Linked DNA regions of Homo sapiens: region 1 is linked to region 2. The links are contacts of gene promoters, found by promoter capture Hi-C in blood cells and fetal thymus (Javierre and others, 2016). All regions are on one chromosome and are shown on one strand. Each heading gives the region's core, a stretch centred on a gene start or on the middle of the fragment in contact. The rest is flanking DNA. Distances are from core to core; before and after follow the strand shown. Region 1 overlaps DYRK4 (dual specificity tyrosine phosphorylation regulated kinase 4). Region 2 holds the start of RAD51AP1 (RAD51 associated protein 1).

Evidence for each region. The method cuts DNA at HindIII sites, captures the fragments that hold promoters and counts their contacts. A CHiCAGO score of 5 or more calls a contact.
Region 1: a contact is called between a fragment that was not itself captured here and the fragment with the promoter of RAD51AP1 in region 2, in 1 of 17 cell types (M2 macrophages). The highest score is 5.0, in M2 macrophages.

The regions. Positions count from the first base shown.
Region 1 is chr12:4,608,563-4,611,262 of GRCh38, reverse strand. It overlaps DYRK4 (dual specificity tyrosine phosphorylation regulated kinase 4), which reads right to left. Exons shown (of 15, transcript NM_001394779.1): 13 at 979-1,108. Among named protein-coding and RNA genes, the nearest start is that of AKAP3, 39 kb to the left of the region's middle. The HindIII fragment of the contact is 4,491 bases long and covers 1-2,700 here.
Region 2 is chr12:4,537,557-4,540,256 of GRCh38, reverse strand. It overlaps RAD51AP1 (RAD51 associated protein 1), which reads right to left and starts at 1,367. Exons shown (of 9, transcript NM_006479.5): 1 at 1,301-1,367. The coding sequence starts at 1,317. It overlaps FERRY3 (FERRY endosomal RAB5 effector complex subunit 3), which reads left to right and starts at 1,788. Exons shown (of 14, transcript NM_020374.4): 1 at 1,788-1,848. RefSeq lists enhancers at 935-1,543, 1,544-2,153 and a silencer at 1,759-1,808. The HindIII fragment of the contact is 5,379 bases long and covers 1-2,700 here.

The sequences.
Region 1 (2,700 bases), core at 3-2,502, 71 kb before region 2:
GAGTGAATAGCATGACCCCCTACGATGGGAATACTTTCATCATTACCTCATGGTTCACCCTCTGAGCTAGTACTGAAATTCCAGAGAGCACAGATGCCAGAAGAGTATTTTGATAACATCACTCCATCCAACTGGAAGAATAAGAGACTGTAATGATATGGTCTTCTAAAAATACTAAATTATAGGACTGATAGAACTGGAAGGGAGCTTAGGAATACCGTATTTTATAGGAAAGAACACTGAGGCCCAGAAAAAAGTGATGACTTGCCAAGTATCACATGGATAATCTACTTGCCACTCTGTGGAGATAGATTTACCTCTTTAATAGTCGTAAAATAATAAGAATAGCTAACGTTTTCTAAACACCTTTTAAACTGGGTGCTGTGCTGGGTACTACGACTTAAGTACAGATCTAATTTCTAAGATTCAAAATATGCATATAGATTATAAAAAGTTGTACATAATAAATGGTTTACAGCTCACCTTCCCCCTAATTCCCTAATATAAGACGATTTGGGTACTAAATCCTAGGGGGAGGGGGACAGGCCCTGAAACCAGTTTACACTGGATGTGTATGCAAATCATTACAACAAGCAGTCAGGGGGTTGGCTTCAGCTCACAGAGCAGAAGACATTTAGGACTGGCAAACAATCTCACTGCCAGGCAGTTTGAGGCCAGGAAGATGACAAACTCTACCATACGCTGTGTATTCCAGGGCAGGTCACTTAATCTCTTTGAACCCCAACCTCCATACGTGCAAAACAGAGCAAATCATCTGCCCTGACAACCACACAGTAGGGAGAGATGTCTGATGAAACAACAGATGTGGAAGCAATTTGTAGACTTTAAAGCTCTATTGTTAGCATTTCTTGTTACTTTTATAACTATCTCCCAGCCTTAGTCTTTCACCAGCAAACGTGTGTCAAAGTACAGCATTTAAGAGGAAACCCAGAAGCAGAGATGTCCCAACAAACTCACACCAAACACCTTCTGAGAAAGTCCAGGAAGCTGGTGTCATAGGTTTTCAGCACCATCGTGAGGTCCTTGGAATCTGGGTATCTTTTTTTCCCCCTGTTGTTGGTTATATTTTTAGGAAAACCTTTGGAATCTGTAGAGATAGAACATTCTGTATTTAGTTTCAGGTGTAAATCTTTAGTGGTCACATGATGCTGCTGCTTAGAGTGGCCTCTGTAGCTCTTTTGCTCTCTGTCTTACACACTCGCCTCATGCCACACCCCAATAAACACACACACACACACTCAGTTTGAAATAACCATGTGTAGATTACCCAAGGAATGCAATTTACTTTAAAAATTGATTTTTTCCTACTATTCAGTATGTTCTGAACTTCCTTCCCACTGCCTCCTCTCCAAATCAAAGAAATAATTTAAATGGCTTAACACCAACCAAGATAAAATAATAATGCTAATGATAATAATGACAATGGTAAAGTAAATGTTAAGTGACAAGGTCCTGTGAAATTGTACAAATATCCATTTCCTTTTGGATCATGGCCTTAGCCCTCCCACTTCATCCTACATTGTCCTTTTTACCAATGACCAAAGAAGAATCAAGCTCACAGTCTTATCAATAACAAAGCTCCTAAAGTCATGATCATGTAATTGTTTTTTCTCACTCTGGCCCTCATCAGTCATTCCCTCCATCCCCTTCTTACTACCTGAGCCACCTGGGCCACCTAAGTATAATATCTTACCAGCCTTGAGACAACACCATTTTGCTGCTAATTAGGGGTATTAACTAGGAGTCGCCCGGGGCAGAGGAGCAGTTGGCAGCCCAAACCTGGGAAAGGAACAGTCAAGAACTGAAGTGGACAACCGTGTTTCCCAAACTTATTTTGTCATAAGAATCACAAGGAGCCGTCATTAAAAACGTCGAATCCTGGGTCCTATCGCAATCTTCCCATAGCATAGCTTATAGAAGAGAATCACAGGAATTCGCTTTTTTGCCAAGTCCCCAAATGATTCTTACATTTGGATAGAGTTTGGAAAACACTGACGAAGATGCAGTTCTCAGCAACATTCCTTCTTTCACAGGAAGTGAAGACATGGATATTGCTGCCAAAACCCCATCACCATCCTAAAGCCTAGTGCTGATGGTAGAAATAAGGAACTCTATGAAGTAGACATGCCTATGTCTTTAGTACGTTCCTACGAAGGTGCTCTGTGTTCCCTTCCTGCTAGTCCCCACCTAGATGCTATCTCATGAGTTCAGAGTTACAGGCTCAAGATATGTCTTCCCACAGTGACTCTGCCTAATCCAAAAGGCTGAATTATTAAGTTGTGGGTAGAAAAAGTATATTTGGGATCCAAAGACCAGTTCGCGTGCTCCATGTGTAAATTATACTGGGGAGCCAGCCAGATCCTTTGCCTACCGCCAGATTGCTCGGTTAATGTGTGGTCACCATTCTATGGCAACCAGGACACTGCCCTGCTCAGAGGCAAGGTCTCCAAAGCTCCAGCCATGATTACCAGATGATGTTTAAAAGAATTAACCATTGGAATGAATGGCATGGAACCAACTAATCAGAATGGAAGACAGCCCTGGCACTGGAGTAGGATCATAGAGAACTTCTGCTTGCTTGGCCTTCAGCTTTTAGGTTTTTGGATCATGGAGAGTTTAAGGAGTCCTGGGAGAGGGCCAGGGAGCCTGCAGTTGTAGCAGGGCTCAGGGCTGTGGCTT
Region 2 (2,700 bases), core at 118-2,617:
GCATGTTCGAAACAGAAATCTTGATCCCTCACACCTCCTAACCTTCCTTTTCCTAGTCTTCCCTATCTTAATACAAAGATCATCCATCCTGTAGCTCAGACCAAAACTATTGTGGAGTCATCTCTGATTCTTTCTTTCCCTTACCTGTACATCTACTTCATCAGCAAGTTCTGTCCACAGTGCCTCCGAAATACATCCCAAATTCATCTGTTCCATTCCATGCCCACTAATAATACCCTATCCCAAACCGCTCTCCAATGATATAATACCTGATTTTCCTGCTCCCGTTCTGGTCACCCTATCCATCATTTATTCTCCACCAACAGCCAGTGACCTTTATAAAAGCAAACTTAGATTCCTCTCCCCTACTTAAAACCCTCCACTGACTTCCCATTGACTTAAAATAAAACCTAAACTCCTTTCTAAGACTTACAAGACCCTATCTGTTCTGGCACCTGCCTATTTCTCTGGCCTAATCCCCCTACGATTCTCCCCACTGCTTGTTAATCCTATAGCATTAGACTGTCCCTAAAATATGGTCAAGTATGGGGCCTTGGCTCCTATTCCCTCTACCCTGATTCATGACTCAGTGCATGCATTATCGCCTCAGAGTCACATATTAACTACTATATTTAAAGTAGTGCTTTCCTCTTTCGCACTCTCATATTTCGAGGCTTATTTTCGGCCCCCTAACCTCACCTCCCACTGGAATGTAACCTCCAGCACCTCGTACACTAAAGAAGTGAATATATTCAATAACTTTATTAAATGAATGGCTAACTATAGGCTTCCATGGCACTCAACTGTGTAAATAGAAGAATCGTTTCTAATACCACGATGGAAAGCACAGAGGATCTTGAGTGAGATGACTTAGGTTTGAGTATTGCCCTGCCACTTACTGGGCTGTATGACTCAGATAACTTACCCTCTATACGTAGAAATGTTAAATCAATACAACAGGAATGCTTACTCTTTCTATATCAAATAACTACAGTGATAAACAAATAAAATAACACATAATTGGGCGCTCGGTGAAATGTAAAGCGCTGTTCAAACGCTAACAAGGTCTTGGTAAAAGAAACGGCGACGGTTGTGAAGGGAGGCAAAGAGAAGGAAAAAGCTACGATGCTAGGATACTTCTGAGCAACGGGTGGCTCTCACTGGAGACTGGGTTCTTGATAACCGTCCATCCTAACCCCACCATCGCTGCCCTCCGGTCTTACTCGATCCTTTCCCCTTAGTCTCATGTCTTTTCCCTTAGTTTTCCTCCCACCCCCGACGAATGTCAGGAACTACCCACCTCACAGGCCGCACCATGGTCCCTTTCAAGGCTTGGTATTTACAGTTCTCAAATTCTTGTTGGCTTCAGCGGCGGTTTCAATTCCCGCCCAAAACCAGACTTCGGAGCCCTCCGCCCCCTGTTACCAGTCGTCCAATCATCACCAGCCATGCTTGCGGCGGCGCACGCGCTGTGGGGAAAGCGAATTTGCTCCCGCCCTCCCCAAGGCACCGCTTTTCCGTATCCGGTCCACCAGAGCCGAGTTTGTGCTTTGTCCCTGCACTTTCGTCACAACGGCGGATTTGCCCTGTCTCTGAAATACAGAATAACAATAGAAATACACCTTATTGCACCTTTCAAATTGTTAAATTGAAACAGGTTGGGACATAGGGGCACTTGGACTGAGAAATTTTCTACAAGATGCCAGGAAATAGAAAAGGATGTGGCGAATCTACGTTCGCGGATCCGCGGTGTGGAAAAAGTATGTCGGCAAGTCAGCTGGTTTCCCAGTGCAGGACGCGCTGACAGCTCGAGTGAGCGGACTGCCCAGGACTTCGGAACTAGACGAGGTGAGCCCAGAACCGAGTGAGGATGCCCTTTCAGACTGACAACCGTTACAGAGGGATTAGTCCCCTCACCCGGCTGAAGTTTCTCAGCTCGACCGTCTGTCTTCCTTTTCCCTGATTAATGTGAGCCTCAGAGCCTCCGCTCTGTTGGCTGTGTGTGTTCGGTCCAGACCTTCCATCCCATTTTCTTATGGGAAACCTTCCTGGATTTCACGGTTGCTAAAACTGAACCCAGGCTTCAGGATAGACCATTAGTCTAAAAAAAGAGCGAGAGGAGAAAGAACTAAAGTTATCAGTTTCTTGAAACACAAGTCTAAATGTTGAACCAGAGCTTTTGTGTCTGCCTTCTCTTTTTTTTTTCAACATTCCTGATTCATTCATATTTTTGCATTTATCAGTGGTTGATTCTTTTTTATTGCTGTGTAGTATTTATCTCATAAAATAAACAAGTTTACTATTCTCCTACTAATACGCATTTTGGTTGTTTCCAGTTTGGGGTATTATAAATAAAACTTATATGAGCATTCTTCTGGGTGTACTTTAGCGAACATATGCGTGTGTGTGTATTTGGATATATACTTAGGAATGAAATTTCTACATCATAGAATATACCTTTATGTAGTTTTGGTAGTTTTCTAACATTATAAAAATTTGTATTGCTTTACGTTTAATTTTAATTCTTTCTGAGTAAAACAAATACCCTATCTCTTTGCATTATGGTGAAATAGACGAAGATTTTTGTGTATAGCCTACATACAGATTTGAAAATATAGTCTGGATAATTCAACTTAGCCCCGCCCCACGACATGTACAAAAGTCCTTTGAGTTTTTTTTATATTTCAGGTGATATCTTTT